2 separate regions of the Homo sapiens genome follow, and region 1 is linked to region 2. Evidence: promoter capture Hi-C in 16 types of primary human blood cells and fetal thymus (Javierre and others, 2016). All regions are on one chromosome and are shown on one strand. The core of a region is centred on a gene start or on the middle of the fragment in contact, and the rest is flanking DNA. Distances in the headings are between cores, read along the strand shown. Region 1 overlaps SLFN12 (schlafen family member 12). Region 2 holds the start of SLFN5 (schlafen family member 5).

The links. The method cuts DNA at HindIII sites, captures the fragments that hold promoters and counts their contacts. A CHiCAGO score of 5 or more calls a contact.
Region 1: a contact is called between a fragment that was not itself captured here and the fragment with the promoter of SLFN5 in region 2, in 1 of 17 cell types (total CD4 T cells). The highest score is 5.2, in total CD4 T cells.

The regions. Positions count from the first base shown.
Region 1 is chr17:35,413,254-35,418,829 of GRCh38, reverse strand. All of the region lies in intron 3 of SLFN12 (schlafen family member 12), which reads left to right. Among named protein-coding and RNA genes, the nearest start is that of SLFN12, 16 kb to the left of the region's middle. RefSeq lists a silencer at 1,973-2,022. The HindIII fragment of the contact is 4,801 bases long and covers 1-4,193 here.
Region 2 is chr17:35,238,324-35,244,321 of GRCh38, reverse strand. SLFN5 (schlafen family member 5) reads right to left here and starts at 1,250. Exons shown (of 5, transcript NM_144975.4): 1 at 1,179-1,250. LOC105371932 reads left to right here and starts at 171. Exons shown (of 4, transcript XM_047437262.1): 1 at 171-211; 2 at 1,103-1,400; 3 at 1,497-1,696; 4 at 2,352-4,279. The coding sequence starts at 171. The coding sequence ends at 2,799. RefSeq lists enhancers at 207-835, 809-918, 1,439-1,498. The HindIII fragment of the contact is 6,062 bases long and covers 1-2,595 here.

The DNA.
Region 1 (5,576 bases), core at 544-3,043, 170 kb before region 2:
GACAGTAATGTAGCATGCTATTTCATTTTATTCCATGTGGATAACAACTTTCCCAGCCGCAATACTGAAAAGTCTCACTTTCACCATGATCTGCCATGCCACCTTCATCATATTACTAAGTACAATTCACCTTTGAACAAAAGGTGCAGTCGAAAATCGGTGTATAACTTTTGACTTTCCAAAAAGTTAACTACTAATAGCTTACTTTTGACCCAAAGCCTTACCAATAACGTAGTCAATTAACACATATTTTGTGTGTATCATATACTATATTCTTACAATAAGTATCATATACTATATTCTTACAATAAAGTAAGCTAGAGAAAAGAAAATGTTATTGAGAAAGTCATAAGGAAGAGGAAATATATTTTCTATAAATTAGGTGTAAATGGATCATTTAGAGGTCTTCGTACTCATTGCCTTCACGTTGTGTAGGCTGAGGAAGAGAAGGGTTGGTCTTGCTATCTTGGGGTGGCAGAGGTGGAAGAAGATCTTGGCGTAAGTGGACCCATGCAATTCAAACCCATGTTGTTCAAGGGTCAACTGTATATCTATAGATAATCCTCTTTCTAGAATCTCTATTATGTTTCCTTGATCAAATTGTCTGTCCCTGCCACTGTAATGTTATACTAAGTATCGATATCTGGTAGGGTAAGCCCTTTAGTTTTTCTTTGAGAGTGTCTAGGCAATTTTTAATCATTTAATCTTCTATACACACTTTAGAATCTGCTTAAATGCCAAAAAAACTTTTGGGATTTTGATTTGCAGTTACAGTGCATCTCTAGATAGATTTGGGAAGACATGGCATATTTATATCAGTAAGTTGTATCCTTGAGTATAGGAAATCTTTTTACTTATTTATATCTTCTTTAATGCCTTTATAGTTTCATAAATTTCTGTGTACACATTTTGTACATCTTTTATTACACTTATGTCTAGGTTCCTTTTATTTTTGTTGTTGTAAAGATATTTTTTTTAAAAGTTCCATTTTCTTGTTTATTGCTAATGTGTAGAAATGCAGTTGATTTTTACATACTGAGTTTATATAAGGCCACATTGTTAGGTTTCCTTATTATTTTAAATAATCTGTCCATAGATTATTTACATTTTGTATAAACAAATATGCAGATCATAAAATGTTTTGTCTTTTCCTTTCCAATCTTTCTGCCTTTAATGTCTTTTTTTCTTGTCCTAATGAACTGAAGAAAACTTTTAGACAATTCTTAATGCAAATAGTCTTAGTTCAGATTTTAAAGAGAGTGTGTCTATGGCTTTCCCATTTAAATTGAGGTTTGCCCAACATGGCACATGTATACCTATGTAACAAACCTGTGCATTGTGCACATGTACCCCAGAACTTAAAGTATAATAATAAAAAAAAGAAATTGAGGTTTGCCTTAGGTACTTTGAATATACCATTATCAGGCTAAGGAAGTTTAATGATATTTCTAGTTTACTAAATGTTTTTTCTTTTTTTATCATGGATGAATACTGAATTTTATCAAACACATTTTCTACTCCTGTTGACATGATTAAATGTTTTTAATATGTTGATTGGCAAATGATGTTTAATATTTTCTATTAAGCCTTTTTTGCATTCCTGGAACAAACTCAGTTCGGTCTTGCAGTATTATCTTTTTTATGCATTTTTATTCAGCTGCTAATACTTAATTTAGAATTTCTGTATCTAAATCCATGAGTGACAAGGTCTAAGAATAGTTTTCTCTCTTTCTTTGTCTAGTATTTGTATTAAAATTGTGCTGAACTCAGAATGAGTTGGGGATTATTTCCTCTTTTCCTATCCTTTGAAAAAATTTATATAAGATTAGAATGATATGCTTGAAATTGTGGTGGAATTTGCCTGTAAAATGGTTTGTCTTCCTTTTGTGGGAAGACTGTTAGTTCTTTTTTCAATCAGGAACTGGCTCTGTCACCCAGGCTGAAGTGTAGCGGTGTGATCATGGCTCACTGCAGCTTCAAGCTCTTGGGCTCAAGTGATCCAACTGCCTCAGCCTATCAGGGCTCTAGGATTACAGGCTTGAGCCACTGTGCCTGACATATTTCTGGTTTTTTAATAAAAGGGTTGCCTACTCTTTCTGTTTCCTTCGGTGTTAATTTTGGTAAGATATTTTTAAGGAATCCTAAATTCAATAGCTGGCATCTCAGTATTAGTCTGACTTATATTTCAGATCCTTATTTCAGGCTATTTTTATTTTCTTGTGAGAACAAAGCAGATTGGTTTCAAAAATTTATTTACTTTGTGTAGTAAGTACTTTTAAAATGTATGCTTTTTCTAGGTATCTTATATGTTAATTTTTAAAATTTTTATTTCACTAGTTTTTGGGGAACAAGTGGTTTATGGTTACATGAATAAGTTCTTTAGTGGTGACTTCTGAGATTTTGGTGCAGCTATCACCTGAGCAATGTACACTGTACCCAGTGTGTAGTCTTCTATCCCTCATTCCCCTTCCACCCTTCCCCTTGAGTCCCCAAAGTCCTTTGTATCATTCTTAGTCTTTGTGTCCTCATGGCCTAGCTCCCACTTATGAGTGAGAACATACAATATTTGGTTTTCCATTCCTGAGTTACTTCAGTTAGAATAATGGTTCCCACCCCATTCAGGTTGCTGTGAATGCCATTATTTCATTCCTTTTTATGACTGATAGCATTCCATGGTGTATATATACCACATTTTCTTTATCCACTTGATGGCTGATGGGCATTTAGGCTGGTTCCATATTTTTGGAATTGCAAATTGTACTGCTATAAATGTGTGTGCAAACATCTTTCTCATGTAATGACTTATTTTCCTCTCAGTAGATACCCAGTAGTGGGATTGCTGGAGCAAATGGTAGTTCTACTTTTAATTCCCTAATGAATCTCCACACATTTTTCCACAGTGGTTGTAATAGTTTACATTCACACCAGCAGTATAAAAGAATTCCCTTTTCAGTGCATACTTGCCAACATCTATTATTTTTTGACTTTTAATTATGGCCATTCTTGCAGGTGTAAGATGGTCTCATTGTGGACTTAATTTTCATTTCCATGATCATTAGTGATGTTGAGCATATTTTCATGTTCATTGGCCATTTGTATATCTTCTTTTGAGAATTGTCTATTTATATCCTTTGCCCACTTTTTGATGGGATTCTTTGTTTTTTTCTTGCTGATTTGTTTGAGTTCCTCATAGATTCTGGATATCAGTCATTTGTCAGATGCATAGGTTGCAAATATTTTCTCCCACTCTGTGGATTGTCTTTTTACTCTGCTATTTCTTTTGCTGTGCAGAAGCCTTTTAGTTTAGTTACTTCTCATCTATTTATTTTTGTTTTTGTTACATTTGCTTTTGGGTTCTTGGTTATGAACTCTTTGCCTAAGCCAACGTCTAGAATTGTTTTTCTGATGTTATCTTGTAGAATTTTTATGGTTTCAGGTCTTAGATTTAAGTCTTTGATTCCTGTTGGGTTGGTTTTTGTATAAGGTGAGAGATGAGGATCTGGTTTTATTCTTCTACATGTGGCTTGCCGATTATCCCAGCACCATTTGTTGCATGGGGTGTCCTTTCCCCACTTTGTTTTTGCTTGTTTTGTTGAAGATCCAATTGAACTGTAAGCATTAGACTTTCTTTCAGTGTTCTCTATTCTATTCCACTGGTCTACATGCCTATTTTTATATCAGAACCATGCTGTTTTGGTAACTATAGCTTTGTAGCATAATTTGAAGTCAGGTAATGTGATGCCTCCAGATTTGTTCTTTTTGCTTAGTCTTGCTTTTGCTATGTGGACTCTTTTTTGGTGCCATATAAATTTTAGGGTTATTTTTTCTAGTTCTGCGAAGAATGATGATGGTATTTTGATGGGAATTGCATTGATGTAGATTGCTTTTGTCAGTATGGTCATTTTCACAATATTGATTCTACCTATCCATGAACATGGGATGTGTTTCCATTTGTTTGTTTCATCTATGATTTCTTTCAGCAGTGTTTTGTGGTTTTCCTTGTAGAGATCTTTCACCTCCTTGTCTAGGTATATTGCTAAGTATTTTATTTTATTTTGCAGCTGTTGTCGGAGGGATTGAGGTTTTGATTTGATTCTCAGCTTGGTCACTCTTGCTGTATAGCAGTACTAATTTGTGTACATTGGTTTTGTATCCTGAAACTTAATGGAATTCATTTATCAAATCTAGAAGCTTTTTGGATGAGTCTTTAGGGTTTTCTAGGTATACAGTCATTTTTCTGTGAAAAATGACATGGGAATTTTGATAGGGTTTTCGTTGAATCTGTAGATCACTTTGGGTAGTGTGGACATTTTAAAAATATGATTTTTTCAATCCATGAACACAAGCTATCTTTCCATTTATTTGTGTCTTTTCCAATTTCCTTCATCAGCATTTTATAGATATCAGTATAGAAATCTTTCATCTCCTTGATAACATTTATTATCAAGTATTTTTTGTAGCTATTGTAAATGGGAGTGTTTTCTTGATTTCTTTATAGGATAATTTGTTGTTAGTGTATGGAAATGCTACTGATTTTTGTATTCTGAAAATTTACTGAATTCTTTTATTTGTTCTGATCATTTTTTGGTGGCATCTTTAAGGTTTTCTATATATAAGTTCACATTGTGGGCAAACCGTGACAATTTAATTTCTTATTTTCCAGTTTGGATTCTTTTTATTTCTTTTTTCTTCCCTAATTGCTCTGGCTAGGACTTCCATATTGGATAGAAGTGGTGAAATGGGCATCCTTGTTTTGTTCCTGATCTTAGATGAAAAGCTTTCAATGTTTCACCATTGAGCATGGAGTTAGCTCTAGGTTTTTTATATATGGTCTTTGCTGTGGTGAGGTACATTCCTTCTATACCTAGTTGGTTAAGAGGTTTTTTTAAATTACAGAATGTTGAATTTTGTAAAATGCTTTTTCTGTATCCGTTAATATGAGCATATAGTTTTGCCCTTCATTTTATTAATGTGGTATATCACAATTATTGATTTTCACATGTTATACTATGCTTGCATCCCAAGGATAAATCCCACTTATTATGATGAATGATCTTTTTTTTTCTTTTTTTTTTTTTTTGAGACATGGTTTCACTCTTGTTACCCAGGTTGGAGTGCAATGGCGCTATCTTGGCACCCTGCAACCTCCACCTCCCGGGTTCAAGCGATTCTCTTACTTCAGCCTCCCGAGTAGCTGGGATTACAGGTGCCTGCCACCATTTCTGGCTAATTTTCTGTATTTTTAGTAGAGACGGGGTGTCACCATGTTGGCCAGGTTGGTCTTGCACCCCTGACCTCAGGTGATCCACCTGCCTTGGCCTCCCAAAGTGCTGGGATTACAGGCGTGAGCCACTACACTGGGCCGAATGATCCTTTTAATGTGCTGTTGAATTTGGTTTGCTAGCATTTTGTTGAGAATTTTTGCATCTAGTTTCAACAGTGATATTGGCCTGTAACTTTCTTTTTTTTTGTAGTGTCCTTGACTGACTTCATGATCAGGGTAATGTTGACCTCATGAAATGAGTTTGGAAGTATTTCCTCCTCTTCAATTTTTTTGGAAGAGTCTGAGAAGGATT
Region 2 (5,998 bases), core at 1-2,500:
GACAAAGGATCCCCTTCTGGTGCAACCGAGCCCCTCAAGATTTCAGCACCCCAACATTTTTAGTGATGAAACCATGAAAATTCCGATGAGGCCCTTGCTTATTTGCATATGTTAACTACCCACTTTTTGCCCAATATTCCTTTTTCTAGCAATATAATTATAAACTGCTGATGCACCGTTTCTTTGTCAAGCAGGAGGATATAGCTTCAGAGTCAAGAAAAAAATTTTGCAGAAGGAATGAATGCCTTTAAGGGCATTGTGACCAGCTGCTGACGCCCAGAAGTCTGGTGGTTCAAGATGTAATCTGAGACGAAGAAAGACTTTTCCCCGAGGTTCCCTGAAATTCCCCCTCCCTTACTTCCTGGTCTCATAAAAACTCCCCACTACTTCTTTTTGTTAGGGTGGATTTGAGAGATCTTGACCTCTTGCCTTCTCGCTTTGGCCAAATGGAATAAATCTTCCTCTGTCTCCAAGCATCTGTGTGTCAGTGTTTGGCATCAACAGCACATCAGGTTCCTGAGCCTGAATTTGGGCTTCGACAACTCGGGCTCCCGGGACACATGCAAGAGGGAAACGGAATCACACCGCAGTCTCAGCCACTGCGGATATGACCAACTAGGGCTCTAGTTAGTCACTGTATGGGGGATACAGGGCTTTGTGGGCTACCCTAGTAGCCTGCCCCTGTTGTTACAGTTTGAAGACTGACGTTCCAAGCCAGGGGCTTATAGGCAAGCCTCTGGAACAAAGCCTCTTGTAATAGACTGGACATTGGCCCTATTTGTCCCCAGGCCACAACCCATTTAACTTCATCCTCGGGAGCCCCGATTTCGTCGTTTTCCCTTAAGTCCTTCGTGCTCCTGAACCGTGGGGAAATGTTGCCAGGTTTGGTTTGCTAAGATGTAGGCTGCGCTGGGTCGGCGCCTCTCCCTCCTCCCCAGCTCGCCCCGCGTTCCGAACCTCCCAGCTCCCGGGTCCTCTGCCACTAGCTGTCGTTGGAGGTGCTCCTGAGTCAACAAACTAAATCTCCCCAGCGGGAAAGACTCTCTCCCGGCAGCGCCCAGACCTGGGGAGCTGCAGTCGCCGCACCTTGTCTTCACCACAGCCCAATAGGAGAACCCGCGCAGACCGGGGGGAGGTTTGGGGAAGGCCTGGGCAAAGAAGCGCGGGGGATTCATTACCCGCTGGGTTCTCCTCGGCAGCGCGTCTCCCTCCGGGAGCAGGCAACGGAGCCTCCCAAGTCCAGAGCAGAGAACCTGACCCGGCGGGATCCCGGGCTTATATCAGCTGAGTTCCGTGACACCTCCCGGGGCGGGACATCGCGCAGGAGACAGACAGAGGTACAGCCCAATCGCATCGTTACGTGGAGCCGGAAGCCCACTCTTGCAACTACAACAGTCTTGGTAAACCTTGGGTGGACTGGGGAGAACTGAGGAGGGGAAGCGCTTTTTTGTTGCTTCTCTGTGTTTTCTATTTTATTTTATTTATTTTATTTTTAGATTTTCAGTTCTTATTTCACCCAGGGAAGGAGACCTGGGTATCCACCCCATGTCCTCCAGAGAACTTCCCTGGCCCCGCTCGGAGTCTTCCTGGGACGCCACAGGCTCGGAGAGCGCTCCGCAGGTTTCTCCCCCGGCGCCTCCAAATCTTTCGATTCCTACTCGAATTACTCCGTCAGCTGCTGGAAGAGGGGCAAGGGGTATGGCGAGACGCGTTGGTACATGGGGCACTGGGGGGAAGGGAAAGCCTCCCTCCTTCTCCTAGTAATTCGAGAATGTTGCGTCCGCCTCCTTTCTTTTGCTGGCGCTAGGGGCTCGGACCAGCACCTGCCAGGCATAGGTGTGGCCACTGGGGCGAAACCTGGCAGGCTCTGGAAACAGCGTTTTACTGACAGGAAAGAGAAACTGTTCTTTGTATTCATCACCCACCGCAGACTTCCTCACGCCCGGGTCTTAGGCGGGGCTGTCAGATTTCAGTGTGTTTCTCTTAATTCTAGTACTAAATTTGTACTGGGCGCTGGCGAAGGGCCTGGCTCCGCCACGCGCGGCCCTCTCGAACTGCCCGTGGGTACGGCGCGCGCTGCTGCCCTGTGTGGCCTGTGCGGGGAACCCGAGGGCCGAAGTGGGCCCCGCCGCAGCACAGGGGGACAAGAGAACCAGGAGCGGGCTGCCTGGGGGCAGATTCGAACCCGTGCTCCCAGCGGATAGAAGTAGCACTTGGGGACTCCTAAAATATTCAGCCCAATCCTGATTCCAGCTGCCCTCTCTAGGCACCTTTCCTCTACCCTTCTTCCAGTTTACAATTCTGGTGAGTAGATGTTTCTCTATCTCTTCTCTTCCAACTCCTGCGCCCAGAGCCAGGAGGACTTCTGGAGCCCGCCCAGCAAGACCCTCTCTCTCCCATCTTCTGCTCAAGGGCTCGAGGTCTCAGTGGACAGAGCTGAAGAAAAGCCGTCTATGGAGCCTGCGCCAGGCGCAGACTGGGTCGTCGCAGTCTGGGTCGTCGCAGTCTGGGCCGGGGCGCTGGAAGTCTTACTCACTTCTCAAGAACCCGCAAGGGATCAGGCCTGACCCTTTGCAAGTGACAGAATCCAAAGCTTTGAGCTCATGGGAAAGTGGCTGGAAAGAAGGTCACTGTAGGGCCGCACAGGTCTCTGGCGAGGCTACCCAAGAACATTTAAATCCCTGCCCAGAGAAGAAGAGGCTCCAGCTGTCCTGCACCTTCCTGGGAACTGGCAGTCCCTCCGCGCAGGGGTTCTGCAGCGACCGGCAGCGCGAGGAGACAAGGATGGTGGCCAGTTAACAGAAAATCAAGGCAGCGGGAAAGGTCTGGAAAACACCACCTACTATCACCTCTGGAGCCTGGGATTATGGGATAAGTTTTCGATTTTTAAATGTATTGTCAAATAGCTAAAGTACACGGAAAGTGCGAAATAATAGTAAATTGAACACCTGTGTATTCACCACACAGCTTAAGCAATAACATTAGCAATATTTGGGTACCCAGCTGGTCTCATTCCCTCATTCCACTTGTCCCCTACTCACCTGATAGCCAGTACAATTTTATGAATTTAAAGTTACTAATTCCCATGCAACTGTTTATACTTTTAGTAAATGTGTTTATGTCCCTCATCAACACATGACACTGATTCAACACATGTATATGCGTTTAAGCTGCATGTAAATGGCATCATGTTGGCCAGGTGCAGTTACTCACGACTGTAATTCCAGCACTTTGGAAGGCTGAGAGGGAAGACGGCTTGAGGCCCAGAGTTTGAGACCAGCCTGGGCAACATAGCAAGACCCTATCTCTAAAAAAAAAAAATTGTTTGTTTGTTTGTTTGTTTGTTTGAGACGGAGTCTTGCTGTGTCACTCAGGCTGGAGTGCAGTGGCGCAATCTCGGCTTGCTGCAATGTCGGCCTCCGGGGTTCAAGCAATTCTCCTGCCTTGGCCTCCCAAGTAGCTGGGACTACAGGCACATCCCACCACGCCCAGCTGATTTTTGTATTTTTAGTAGAGACAAGGTTTCACCATATTGGCCATGCTGGTCTACGAACTCTTGACCTCATGATCTGCCTGCCTCGGCTTTCCAAAGTGCTGGAATTACAGGTGTGAGCCCCCGCGCCCAGCCAAAAAAATTGTTTTAAATTAGCTGGGTGTGGTGGTGCCTGCCTATGAAGTCCCAGCTACTCAGGAGGCTGAAGTGGGAAGATGGCTTGAGCCCAGGAGTTGAAGGATGCTATGAGCTCTGATTGTGCCACTGCACCCCTGCATGGGCAATAGAGTGAGACCCTGTCTCTTTAAAAAAAAAAAAAAAAGTATCATATTGTATGTGTTCTGTAGAACTTGCTCCCACACTTTAACATTTTGCTTTAAAGATTTGTTCATGTACTTAGATCATTCCTTTTCACTGCTTTATGAGCTGAATCATTTCTGCTCTTCTTTCCATCCATACCCATTGGTCTCCAAAGTATCCAGGCCTCCCCAAAAGTTCCTGCAGGAGACCTCAGTTCCACTGGCTTTCAGGTCATTATTGTTCCAGCACTACTTCTCCATTTCTGGTTCCAGCCCTTCTCTCCCACATTCTCAAGCTTCTAGAGGGTCATAAGAGAGGAAAAACGCCAAATGCCTTTGATAAAATGTTGCCTTTCCAGTGGTATGCATGTTTGTGTGGAGTGGGAGGGAAGTGAGGGCAGATGTGACTTACTCTCAGCATTAATTCAAGTTTAAAAGTAAAATCTTTAGGTTTGCCTTGTCCAGTAAAAAATGCCAAGAGCCATAACTGCTCATTCTCTCTCTCTCTCTCTCTTCTCTCTCTCTCCTCTCTCTCTCTCTCTCATACACACACTTGGTTAATGCAATATTTACGTTGTTTTTGCTTCAACAAACTAAAGAGGAGAAGAGAGTTGGTAGGTTAAAGGGGCAGGTTATTCTTTTTTTTTTTTTTTTTTTTGAGGCAGAATCTCGCTTTGTCACCCAGGCTGGAGAGCAGTGGCTCGATCTTGGCTCGCTGCAAGCTCTACCTCCCAGGTTCATGCCATTCTCCTGCCTCAGCCTCCTGAGTAGCTGGGACTACAGGTGCCCGCCACCACACCCAGCTATTTTTTTTTTTTTTGTATTTTTAGTAGAGACGGGGTTTCACTGTGTTAGCCAGGATGGTCTCAGTCTCCTGACCTCATGTTCCGCCCGCCTCGGCCTCCCAAAGTGCTGGGATTACAGGCGTGAGCCACTGTGCCCGGCCAAAGGGGCATGTTATCTTATTAAGGGCAGGCAGTCTCTCACAGAAAGAATCACTGTATTAGTGTAGGGAGAATCACTGCCTAGGTCAGCCGTGTGTCAATGACCTGTGTCACTGTCCTCAGTCTGCACAGTGAGACTGGAGGCTGCATGCCATGGTCTACAGATCCCTCACTACAGAAAATTTGCTTCAGCATTCTCCGTGAGAGTCACAGGGAGATTGATTATGGGGGTCAATGCTCAATGGCATCATGGCTGGCCAAGCTTTTTGCAGAAACTTTTACTAGGGGACTGAGGATTATAGCAGCAAGCATCTTAGCATAGAGCCTTATCTGTGTTTCCACAGACTATCTTTCAAACCCAAGCTACTTGTTTATAATATTCACTTTTCAGGCAAAAACATATTTTCCACTTTTTTTCTTTTCTTGATAAAAAGTTTAAAAAACAAAATTTGCATAAACACGTATATGATGTTTCTTAGGAACAATGTTTGCCATTTGACAAAGTGTGGTGAAATTTTGTCAGAACAAGTTTACTTGAAGGAGGGATGAGACATCCTTTATCAATGTTCATATGAATCACACACATCAGAGAGAGTGGGAGGGAGAATCTTGGTTCTCTGGCACTCCCAGTACCCACATTGAGATCCGAGAGTGTCCTGATGATTTTCCTGTCTCAGTAAGTAATTAAGCTTTTCCTGAAGGAGCTCAGTTAAGTCCAAGCTTAATTTCAGTCAAGTCCAATGTTTAAGTTGCTTTTTCAGCTACATGAAATGAAAGTGTGACTCAGAATTTTCTCTCTATATCCCCTCAGATCTTTAGCACACTGAGGGTAATTACAGAGTCTCAAAGCATATCCCCACAAGATGCTCTATTTATTACAAAGGAAAAAGACACTAATTTTCCAGAGAATCCTGGAATATATCACCTCAACCAAGTGATCAAAGTTAACATCATTAGTAACAGGACAAATTAAATTGCATGCCACTAAAAGAACAATTTTTATTTCTTATGTATTCCTGACCCAATAAAACAAAACAAAACAGCACAATAGAAAGTAACTATAAGGAAACATTAGAGGGTTCAATGGTGCCCACCTGTAGTCCAAGCTACTTGGGAGTTTGAGGCAGGAGGATTGCTTGAGGCCAGGAGTTCAAGACCAGCCTGGGCAATATAGCAAGACCCTGTCTCAAAGTAAAAAGAAAAGAAAACGTTAAACCCAAACCCAAATGGAAAGACTGTTCTAGATTGAAGAACATTAAAAA